2 separate regions of the Homo sapiens genome follow, and region 1 is linked to region 2. The links are contacts of gene promoters, found by promoter capture Hi-C in human tissues and cell types (Jung and others, 2019). All regions are on one chromosome and are shown on one strand. The core of a region is centred on a gene start or on the middle of the fragment in contact, and the rest is flanking DNA. Distances in the headings are between cores, read along the strand shown.

Region 1 (6,549 bases), core at 264-2,763, 390 kb before region 2:
CAATGCAAAAGCACTAAACATAGGAGCTATTATTACATAATATTTTGCTCCAACTATTACCATATCAACAATATACTTTCACTTTTTCTTTTTGTTTTTTTCCAATAAATCTCTCAAAAATAAGTAAACTTCTGAAAATGAGGCTGGATGACAGTAATTTAATGATTATTATAATGCTATATGCAGACATCAATTGTAATGAAGTAATTTTTTAATTCATTGTCAGTGTTTCTGTAGTTAGCAAAGATTTAGGGAAAAATAACTGTTCATTAAATATTTATATATAACCAACCGTGCATATAAGGTGTAAAGATACATGAACGAGGAAGATAAAACTTCTGGCCTCTAGGAGCTCACAACTGACACCAGTGGTTCTCAACAAGGGGTTATTTTGCTCCCCCCAACCTCCACCAGAGGACATTTGTCAATATCTGGAGATATTTGTTATTGTCATACTGGGATGGTGAGCTGGTGTTGGAGTTATTGGCATCTAGAAAGTACAGACCAGGGATGTTGTTAAACATTATAGAATGCAAAGAATAGCTCCCTTCAATAAAAAATGTTCAGGTCCAAAATGTCAACAGTACCAAAATTGTAAAATCTTGGCTTACTTCAAGAGGGCAAATAATTACAAAACAAGTGCATGGATCAAGACAAATCCCTATTAGAACCCAAAGGAGCAACAAACTCTGGCTGGGCAGGAAAGAAGAAGTTTCATGGGGACAGTGTCCATGGGCTGTGTCTGAAAGAACAGATTCAAATAAAGTCATCAAAGAAAAATGTACATTAAAAAGCTGGGATCTAAAATAGGGACAGCATTTCTTGAAAGTTCTTTCCAGGGAATACCAAGGTATATAGGGGCATAGGATTATAAAGGTATTAAACACACATGCGCGCGCGCGCGCACACACACACACACACACACACACACACTGTTAACCCGTTTTACATTGTTATAGAAGAACACCTGAGGCTGGATAATTTATAAATAAAAGAGGTTTATTTGGCTCACAATTATGCCGTCTGTACAAGAAGCACAGCACCAGCATCTGCTTCTGGTGAGGCCCTCAGGAAGCTTTTGCTCATGGCAGAAGATGAAGGGGGAGCAGGCGTGTCACGCTGGCAAGAGAGAGAGCAAGAGAGATGCCAGATTTCTTTAAACCACCAGCTCTCATGTGAACTAATAAAGAACTCACTCTTTACCTTGGGGATGGCACCAAGCCATTCATAAGGAATCTGCCTCCATGACCCAAACACCTTCCACCAGACCCTACCTCCAACAATGGGAATCAGATTTCAACATTAGATTTAGAGGAGACACATATACAAACTGTCTCTCACAGACACACACACATGTGTGCAGTTATGCATACACACAGATTCCTGAGGTCAGACTTTGAGCAAAGCAAACTTACCAAAATTAAACAAGATTCTTCACTACATGACTTATTATAACTTTAAGATGTAATTTTCCAAGAGGAGAATATAGTATTCAGCGTTTTAAAAATATATTTAACCAGATATATATTGTTTTAGAAATGCATCTCTTGTGATTAGTGTTACATGGATCACAGCTTTGAAAAATGACATTTTAGACAGTAGGAGATCATTTAAGGACGTTAAACAGAGGAAGTGGTCTGAGCATATGTCCGATTTTAGAGGGTAAGTAGTAACTGTGCAGAAATGGACTGGGGACACACCTGCAGTGGGAAAGACAAATGAGTCATGAGGGACCGGTTAGAAGGTTATCACAATAGTTAATGTTAAAATTAATGGAGTCACGTATTAGGGCTATGGTTAGAAGACGGTTGTGAACTAGACGTGAGGGCTGTCATGTTTAGATGAGAGTAACACCCTTTATGCCTCATCGCTTGCCCTTATTTTCTCCTTTAATTTATTTTGTCCATGGAAGAATGTCCATCCATTAGCAGAATCACAGCATAAAAGGCATACTGTATACGTATGCACTAGGCTTGGGATTTCAACCTACTATAGACCTGCAACTAAGACTCTCTCAGGCACAATTCTCATTCACTAAGTACTGGAGTGAAGCCATTATCCCTAAGTAAGGCAGGCTGTCTTTATAAACTGCAGCCTTGCATGTTTGCACAACACACAATCTTCAGCTTCTGAGGCCCTCTGAATGGTGGAAAGTTGGGCAGCTCATGCATCACTGAGCTCCTTGCTATATGAAGAGCTCCAAAGTTACTGAATAGTCCACACTGCACCATAAATTACAGGGTAGTTATTTCTTAGTTATTTAGCAGTTACAGTGCAATTAGTTCCACTTAATGTCAACTTTTGCCAATACATCTTCCATTAGCCTGAAAATTATAGCTTGGTTCTATAACAGCCGTAATATGCAAGCGGTTTCCAGACTCCAGCTTGCATCTGGGAGGGGAAGGCAGAGAGAAAATTGCTTCGAAAAGCAAGTTGATTTGAATGTGCATGTCTGATCCTCATCCCAATTCAGAAGCCATCCACTGACAACCTGGCAGCCCGCTTCTGTATCAGTGACTGAAGGAGAAGTTTGGAGGAATACAATGCCCACAGCTGGAGAGTATGGTATAGCTGATGAAAGATAGGAATAAACTTGTCAGTGCTGAAATCCTGAGGTCTGACAAGGTTAACTCCAAGCTGTGAGTATATAGAAGACTTGGATTAGTTCAGCTTTGGTACTTAGTTCAGAGTTTACCAACATACCGTTTCATTTTTTAGCTCACTTTCCCACTGAATGTACAAAGGGATTACACAAACCAGACTTACTTTGCTTTTATCCAAAATTTACATAGCCCATGTATCTTATACTTTGCAGAGTAAGATTTTAAAGAAACATGGCTTAGCACCTCTCTCTCTCTCTCTCTACACACACACATACACACACACACACACACACACACACAAAATGGAGTAAGGTTTTATATAACAGGCTTTTTTTTTAACCTCTACTGGCTTAATCCTTCAAAAGGTGCTTGGGTCATTTATTAAGGACTCAAACATAGCATATATTTACTGGGCACTTGCTATGTGCCAGCCATGATGCTAATAATGTTGTTTGAGTTATCTTATTTCATAAGGTTGGTATCACACTGTAATTTCCCTTTTTAATAAACAAGGACTCTTAAGTACTGAAGAAGTTAAATAACTTCCTCATGCAGTAGTATTTGATTTCAGATCTTCTGAAATCCAAAATCCATACTATTTGTTAAGATATATTCTTTAATTTTAATTGAATAACCTCTCAATATGAACCAGAGAGTGGAAAAACTAAGTAATCCTAGTATAGAACTGGAAGGGTCAGGAGGTTACCAAATAATGTGTTTATTTGCACATGTGTGTATGCATTCAGTGTAATTTAAACTGATTCTAAAAGTGTTTGCCAAAAGGACATCTGTTTTGAATGATGACAGCTTTGTTATAAGCACATGTGGCTTCCCATATAGGAGGTCAGCAAGAGCTGACATTTCTCTGTTGTGCTTTCCTTTGCTTGCATGTTTCTTGAGACCCTGATGCCGTCTTGCTTTGATTTATAATTCATTGTTTATATTTGCTGCCTCCCACTTATCTCCAAGGTTAGAGGCTGGATCTTCCTCATCTCCATACACCCTTGCCCACCATAACACATGACCTGGTAGAGCAGCACATACAGTAACAAAGGATCTGGACTGTGCATGACCATAATGCACATTTAATGACATTTCTAAGCCTTGGTTTCTTTATTGGAAAAAATGGGTACAATAACACTAACCTACTTTATAGGAGTTTTGTTAAGGCTAAATAAATATATCATGTAAAGACTTTGACTAGTATCTGTAACAGAGTATATTCACAATGAGTGGCTAAAATTATCATTCATAAGATGATCATTTTGATAATAGTAATAATAGCCTGTTTCGATGAAAGAAGAAGAACAAAGGGAATTTTTAAAATATTCAGTTGTCCAAAGAATCAGGATTAAACACAACAAAGAATAAACCAGCCTCTAGTGCATTATGCACTCTCGTCCTGTCTTTTCCTTTATCTAAAGGAAGGTAAAATGCATACCTCAATTGTTTATATACAAGAGCACATGACTTATCAATCAATGCAACCCAATGTGTGTATAGCTCTAATGTCTATCTCTACAAGCATCCAGACGAGTGGTGAATGACTTCCTCAGATTCAATCAGCAGATTTGCAGTAGAGTATAAAAATTTTCCTCCTTGGTCTCTACCTTAGCTCTTGTTACTAATAATACCACAACTGTGGTGGTCACATTACATCCATTATCTCAGTAGCTCCAAAGACAACCCATAAGATCAATAAAACTTTTATTATTTCCCCTTATTCATCTTCATATCCTGAGCTATCCGACTCAGTGGCTTATTGGTAATGACTTTTTGGCAGTTATTGAATATTTGTGGAATAAATGGAAGTTAACTATAAAGTAAGTTTTGTGTTTAAGTGACAGACAACATTTAATCAAGCAGTCAACCAATACTCATGAGAGTCTTACCCTGGAGAGAAAAGTTATTACTGGATAAACCCTGTACTTTTGCAGCACTTTCAAACATTGTATTAAAATTAAATATGACAACAAGCGTTCTGATTAAACTTATATGTGGTATTTAAAGTAGTTCAATTTGTAGAAACAGAAAGTGGGATAGGTCATTGGAGGTTGAGGAAAAGGACAGTTGCTATTTAAAGGGTATAGAGTTTCGGTTTCACAAGATTAAAAAAGTTCTGGAGAGCTATTTCGTAGCAGTGTGAATACACTTAACACTAGAGAACTGTACACTTAAAATGCTTAAGATGGTAAATGTTATAAAACGTGTTTTGTTAACCACAGTAAAGAAAAAAATAAGCATGACCTTTTCAAAAACTTAGAGCACAAGGTTAAATATAAAAGTTTACAAATACATTGATCCTCCACCATTGTTTCTGTCTCCTAAATCCATAGATTTCCTCCACAGAGACAATAGCTGTTAATGATTTCTGTGTTTCCTCTCAGAGAGTCTAAAACATGTATGTGTGTGTGTGTGTGTATATTTGTTTCTTGTCTTTTTACATTGAAGATGTATCAGGATTCAATCAGAGGAGAACCAGTATGAGACACACATACACTTTTATGCACACATACACTAATACATGCATACACACAGACATGCATATGCAGAGATTTATTAGGCAAAACTAGTTTATCCAATTGTGGGGGCTCACTAAACAAGTCAGAAGTCTGTAGGACAGGTAGGAAGGGAAGATCACATGCAAACTGGAATTTCACAAACACAAGATGAAACCCATTGTGCACAGGCAGTGGTCAGGAAGGAAGATCAAGAAAGAACAACTATAGACCCAGCTGTTTGGAGTATCTGCCTCAGGAAGTTCATGAGACTCTTTCTAAAGGCCTTCCAGGTGACTGAATCAGGGCCACACTGGGTAATCTTCCTTTTAGTTAACTAAAAGTCAGCTGCTTAGGGACTAAAATCACACCTGTGAAATCGCTTCACAGTAGCATCTACATTAGTGTTTGATTGAATAGTTGGAAGAAAGTGTGGGTATGCTACAAAAAGTGGCCACAGCTTTCTTTATATTTCCCGACTCTCCTGATAGAATATTCCTTACAGTTGTCCCTAATAAGAAATGTATTATGAAGTACATCCTGGGACCATGGCTTAGCCTAGCCAAGTTGCTACATCAAAAAGCATCCCAGTGATGCCATGCTGTACGTGATGTTAGTACTTGGTCTTGTGTCAGAAAGATTTATCATACTATTAAATAAAAAACTCTTTTTAGCAGCTACACGATATTTCAAGGCATATGTGTAATAACTGCTTTTAGTGATGGACATTTATGTTATTTCCAGTCATTTTCTCACTTCCAACAATGCCTCAATATTTACCTTATATGTGTCTTTCTTAGATGTACCAATATATTTGTAAACAGTATTATTAGAAGTGGGAATGTGAAGTCAAATCATATATGCATTTAAAAATTTTGCCAAATATTGCTAAATTTCTCTTCAGAGAGGATGCAGGAGCTTGTCCTTCCACCAAATCTTAGGCATTCCTTATGCTCAAGATGGTCCTTTTTCCTTCTTTGCTTGGGTTTCACCCAGCTCAGCACTGTCTATTCTTCCGCAGGGAGACAGAATTTCTCCAAAGTGTGGAGCTTCCCATGAATCTACATTTTCACCTCCTTGAATTTAATCCCTTATACCTGAGTTACTAGAGCAAATATTGAATCCAGTATTGTGCATTACAAATAGGGTATGCTAGCCAATATATGGTAAACTTCTAGAGAGTCACAGGAATTTGGGGTGGGAGATATCACAGAGAATAAAGCATACCCTCTCTCATGTATTGTTCAGTTTTCCTAAAAACTTTTTTTGCAAACTTACGTATCAGCTCTCAGAATTTGTAAAGCCACCTGTGCCCTATTTGATATACACCCTTTGAAACTTTCTAAGGTGATTTTATTTGGGGGAATATTCTAATTAGAGACATAATTGCACAGCTAATTGTGAATAACACTTAAATGGTAGAAGTAAGTGTTCAAAAAGGTTTTGAC
Region 2 (6,079 bases), core at 2,082-4,581:
CACAATTTGGTGTGGAGGTTCTCTTTTTTGGAAATGTAGCAAGCAGGAAAGGTTTCTGGATCTTTGTGTGCACATGTGTGTATAAGCACACCTATGCATGTGTGCTTGCATATGCTTCTGTGCCTGTAATATGTATTAATGTCTAGGGGTGAGATTCTAATTAATATAAAGAAATTAATTTGCCTGAAGTATTTGCACTGGTAGATGGGTGTACATTTTGCTCTCTGGAAACCAGTGCATTCCTTAATAAAAATCTTAGATACAGACCAGACACTTTGCTGGGTTCTGCCTACCAGTCACACTCAGTACTGGGTCCTTGCTTGTCGGTAATTCCCTAAAGACATTGGAGAAGGAATCTATGTTCTCTCTCTGTCTCTCTCTCAGTCCTCCCCCCACCACCGTGTGTGTGTGTGTGTGTGTGTGTGTGTGTGTGTGTGTGTGTGTGTGTGTGTGTGTGTCTTTCGGGAATAGTGATTGAGGCATTGGATCTTTTCTCTTCAGGGCCATGTTTCCAGATAGAAAAACCCTGAAATGCATCTCTGAAAATGTGAAGTTTGATGAGGGAAGACAAGCGATTGTCTTGGTAGGGGTCATGGTGGCAGGTTGGCAAGATAGGGGTGGGAGCAATATACAGTCCTAGAGTGTATATTGCTGGGAGGAGTGGAAAGGGTATTGATCTAGCTGATTGATAAGCCTAGATTCTAGTCCTGGGCATGCCACTAACCCACTACTGAATGTTGGGGAATTCTCATTCCCTCTTTAGGCCACAGAGTCCTGCCTTTCTGCTCTTTAATATTCCTTCCAGTTTCGATCGTCTGTGAATTAGGAAAGAGAGAAAATGAGGCAGTTCCCAAAAATGGGTCTCCTCCTTGGCCCTAGTACCCCCTACCCAAGATAATCCAGGGAGCTCTGCCCTGACATGAGTTTCCTGAAGGAGATTCTCTGTGGCTATGTGAAGGCTTCAGCCTGAGGTATCAGCCTCTGGACAGAGAATGGTATGTCTGCAAGTGCCTGCAGGTAGAACCCACCCACTAGGGCAGGTTCCTACAAATACATGTTTGCTTTTATCTCTCCCCAGAATATGAACACATGTGTGTGTGTGTGTGTGTGTGTGATTGATATATATATATATATATATATCTTCCTAGAATATATGTGTACATTTTTTAGGCCAAATATATTTCTACTTTTTTCCCCTAAGAGGGCTTTTCAGCGGCCCCTCCGTGCTGAGCTAGACAAGAGGCTGTGTCCCAGCGTCACAGCCCTTGTCTTCTCCTAGCCTCCCTGCCTGAGAGCAGAACGGCTGCCGCTTACCTTGAGAAAGTAACAGCTGCCGAGTCTGGAAGCCATGCTAACAGCAGTAAAACTCAGCATTTTTGCTGAGTAGGGCAAGCCTTTAAGAGGCAGCTGGGAATCAAATCAATGGCTGGCCCCAGAGCCCAAGCCCAACAGTACCAAGCCAGGGTGGCCAAGGGACCTACCTAAAGAGCCTCCCAGGAGATGGAGGAAAGAAGAAAGAGGGCCTTGACCCAAACTACCTTCCTGGCTGAGATTCCTCCACCGCCCCCCTGCCCTTGGCAGTATTTTGGAGCCAAGTGAGAGACGCGAGGTGCAAACCGACAGCAGTTTAAGTCAATTACTGCCACATTCTGTCATGGGTTCCACACTCACAGCCCCTTTTCAAATTGTAGATCTCCCTCAGTACTGAAACACTCTCTCTCTCTGTCTCCCTCTCTCTCGCTCTTGCTCTCTCTCTCTCCCTCTCCACCTCTCTGCCTTCTCTCAATATCCCCCTAACTCCAGGGGAGCCATGGAGAGGCATATTTAGGGAGAGACTCTCTGGGGGCTTCCCCGCCTGAAATGGGGAAAGAAAGACGAATCTGTCTTAGGAAAGTGCCCCATCCATCTCCTTCCATATCATCCACAGCCGCCCCAGATGAAATTTCCTCTGAGACCCTTTGCAACTGTGATGGATGAGCAAGTCCCCGAGGACGCTTTCTCCTTTCCCCTGAGGGGGATCCATGCAAACTTGCCAGATCCTCCCCAAAACCAACAGAAGCCGGAGGGGCTCTGTTGATTGCAAACGGGGATGCAGGGTAAATCCCTATCCCAGACTTTCCAAGCCCCAGATAAGGAGCCCACCGCTGACTTCCCCCTTTCTCTGTCACCCACTATCCAGTGTCTCCAAATTCCCATCAGAATCTTGGAGTCTGCCCAGTGTAGAATTTAAAGTGACAGCGTCTCATTTGCCTCGGGGGTTGGCCATGTCTCTTTCATATTAAGCTGTGGGTCCCAGTGTAGCAGGATTCCACCGTTTGGAGGAATTTTCCTTCAAGCGTACCAACATTGGGCTAAATAAGGTGCCATCTACAGCCCCATAATCCTCCCCAAACCCCAAGCCCAGAGCCCCAAGAGGAAGTCCACAGCGGGTTTCCCGGTGACTACGTGATCCTATAGTAAGGGTCCCATTCCGTGTAAGCTGGAGAGACCTAATTAAAAAGACACACGAGGGCACACATACAAACACATACGTACAAACATGCACACACACATCGCGCCGTAAGTAGGTTATAGGACCTCTCTCTCTTCACCCCTCCCTTACACACACGGACACACACACACACCACGAACACACGCATCAAACGCAAACGACGCCGCACACGCAAACACACTAGCACCACATCAAGTTCCCACCATGGTGCACACGTCGGGAGCGCGCGGGGACACACACGCCACTCACTCAAACCCGCAATTAGCCCTTTGAGCCCCAGGCACAGGAACCCCCTCCCTAGAACTGGAGAAGACTTGGAGGCGGCGGGGCGGCCAGGTGAAGAGCGGACAAGGGTGCCGGTAGGGGGAGGGGCAGAGGAGCGCGGGGACGCCCCGAATGCGGCCCGGGGCCGGGTCCAAGGGCAGCGGGGCTGCGGGGCGCTGCACCCGGCGCCGCCTTACCTGGAGTCAATGTCCGTCTTTGGCGGAGAGCTGCGGGAGGACGCTTTTTATTCGGCTCGGTGGGAACTTGGGAGAGCCCTGCGTGCAGCTCGCATTCCGGGCACGGCGCGGGGACTGCAGGCGTGGGGGTACCTGGCTCCTAGCAGCCTGGCTCATACTCAGCCGTAAAGTCCCCTTCGCTGGTCCCGAGGACAGGCATGAATCCCGGCTCCGGAAGGCGGTCACTACTCCCTCTGCCTCCCGGCTCTCTCGCTCTCGCTCTCGCTGTTGCTCGCTCGCTCTCTCCCTCTCTCGCGGGTTCGCTCGCCTGCGCTCTCCTCCTCCCCGCGCGCCAGATCAGTTTGCAGCCGTGGGGTCCGGGAGCGAGGCGGCTGGCGAATGGAGAGGGAAGTCCAAGTGCGCCGCGGTCTCCGGGCGGGGAGCGGCGGAGGCCGGGCTACGCCGGGGGAGGGACTTAGCCGGCGACGGCCGAAAATGAATGGGGGAGCGGCGGCCGGGGGGCGGGGAGGGAGGAGCTGAACGCCGGGGTTGCTTCCGAGGAGTGTTTTGTACATCTTTAGGCGGAGGAGGAGGAGAAGCGAGAGGAGGAGAGACGGGAGGCCGCCTCGAGGGAAGGGCGGCCCGGGTGGGCTGGGGCTGAGCCGTAGGGAGTTTCGTGGGTCTGGGGCGTGTAGGGTGTTGTGTCTATGCGCACGAGCATCCAAAGGGACCGCGCATACGCGCAAACCCGGAATCCTGGTGCCCTTAAGCGTGACTGTACTGTGTGTGTCGCGAGTACCTGAGTGTTTCTGGGGCGGCAGGTGTTTCCACGGCCGCGTGGATCCATCGAGTGTGGGTTTTGTCTCGGGAGTTGCCCGTGTGGGTCCGTTTGTGTCTGCGCGTCTCTCTGTGAGTGTTTGACACTGTTTGTTTCTCTCGGTGTGTAGGCGAGAGCCCACGTAACCTCCCAGAATGAAGCAAGAGCTTCTCTACGTAGGCAGGATGTAGGAGGGAGAAGCTGAGGGGACACGAAGTTCTCTGGAGACCACCAGAGGCGGGGAAGGGGCGAGGGTACAGGGACTAAGACATGAAAATAAAAAGCAAAATACTCTGCAATCAGCCTGAATGCAGGCTGGGGCTGCTAACATAGGGCCTCTTCCTGAAGCAGAAAATAAAGCCCTCGTATGATAATTCCCACACAGCGCACATTTGGTATGTTTGTTTACTTTGCTTCCCTTCTGATTTAAACCAAATCAGCAATGCAGATCCCTAGTCCCCTGAAGATTAGGCAAGAATAGAAAGCATTAAGGCTACCAGATGGAGGGGCAGGAAGTCATAGGAAAAGGTGTTGGAATATGTAAAAGAGCCAGATTCAGTAGAAGTGCAGGCTCCAGAGAGGTTGGAGTCCTGTAGCTGTCTGGTCTTGGTGAAATCACTTACCCCTTAAGCCTCAATTCCTTGTCTGTTTAATAGAATAATAATATATCTACCCATCTAATAGGGTTGATGTGGAATTGTAATGAGTTAATATATGCAAAGGCACTTAGACTGCTCATGAGTTAATGTATGCAAAGGCACTTAGACTGCTCCCTGACACCTAGTGAGTGCTCAGTGCATGTTGTCTGCTTTTATGATTGCCATTGTATGTTTTTTGTTTGTTTTTTAATTCAAAGGATGATAAGAGAGAGATGTGACCACCAGGGAGGCCTAGAACAATCTAGGAGCCAGTGAACTAATTGGAGGAAGAGGAGTCTTGAAACAAAATGGAAGAGAAATGTTTGAGTGATGAACTGGGAACTCGGGAAAAATTATTTAATCGACAAAGAGAAAGGGAGAAAGAGAGGAGAAGACATCGAGCTAGCCAGAATGATCCTGGGTCTCAGAAGGTCAGGACTGAGGGGAGAGGAAAGGGAGAGGAGGAGCAGCCAGTGCAGAGCTTCTCAGCCTTCACTGGAATCCCAATGAGGAGGAGTCAGCACCACGGACAGCTCTCCAGCCACAAACCCAGTCAGCGATTTCTATTTTCGCCTGGTGGAAATTTCTCCCTTTTTTCTTGGGCAACTTTCTCTTTCCCTTGGCTTCTGGTCCAGGTTCAGGTCTTGAACACAGGTTCCCCAGGTCAGTTCTGACTTTGATTCTGACCACGAAGAAATACGCCCACCACACACACTCCTTCTCCCACCCACCGCGGTATGAAACCCCAGGTCACTATCTCTTGCCTCTCCTCCTTTCTTTCTTTTCTCTCTCTCTCTTTCTGTCTGTGCCCCATTCCTTCCTTTATTCGTCCCTATCTTTCTCTTTGTTTCCCCATCATCCCCCAGCTGAGATCTACTTCCATGACTGTTAGTAGGCAACAGCTGCCCTGCTGATAATGCAGTTCTGAAATCAATCTGAGACAACGTAGTCAGGCAACTTCAGGTGAAGACCAAAGTTCTGACTGATTCTTCTTAACCCTTTCCTTGTAATCAATCTCCCAAGATGGGTTGTGGTCTACATACCTTAGAAAGTGGGGACTTAATGCTTTGGAATACTGTCCAGTCTTTCTCTTCCTCACCCCACCCAGTCAATATTTCCCTAAAGAAAAAAAGAGCTCTTCTAGTTCCAACCAATACTACACAGAGAGAAAGAGGAGAGAGAATTTTGAACTTTTACCGTGCACCAAGCATTTTATTTGCAATGTTCTGAATATTATTGCTTACAGTTCTGAAAATACTTTGCAGTATGAATAGATAATACTATCCCATCTTTATGGCATAGGAAATTGAGTCTTGAAAAACTTGAGTATATGCCAAACTAGCTATATGCCAAAATATAGCTAGTAGGTGATGGAGTCAGGAATTCAACACCCAAGTCCAAGTCCAAAATCTTTATCCTCTGGGAATAATGGGGAAGCCCTGGGGTGATTGGAAGTTCTTGGAATTTTATGGGGTCACTGCACCCAACCCTAAATATCAACTTAGATGTCTGGATCCATTGCATTATCTGTGTCCCATCCCAATGGATGATTTAGTGTATCTTGTCCCTGGAGAAGGAGGTGAAGACTTTGCATGGACAGATTTAAGGCTCACTCGAGCCTTATGGTTTCTGAGTTTTGAATAAAATGCCAACCTTTCCAGGTCTTAGTTCATTTGCATTTGGCTCAGTTTAG

The links. Contacts are between HindIII fragments. The study calls those that stand out against the background at their distance.
Region 1: a fragment that was not itself captured here is called in contact with the fragment with the promoter of BRINP1 in region 2 in 1 of the 25 tissues and cell types used here (H1 embryonic stem cells).

What each region holds. Positions count from the first base shown.
Region 1 is chr9:118,982,657-118,989,205 of GRCh38, forward strand. No RefSeq gene overlaps it. Among named protein-coding and RNA genes, the nearest start is that of LINC02578, 310 kb to the left of the region's middle. The HindIII fragment of the contact is 7,372 bases long and covers 1-5,199 here.
Region 2 is chr9:119,366,104-119,372,182 of GRCh38, forward strand. BRINP1 (BMP/retinoic acid inducible neural specific 1) reads right to left here and starts at 3,332. Exons shown (of 8, transcript NM_014618.3): 1 at 2,953-3,332. RefSeq lists enhancers at 2,731-3,252, 3,253-3,775, 3,776-4,296. The HindIII fragment of the contact is 11,628 bases long and covers 1-6,079 here.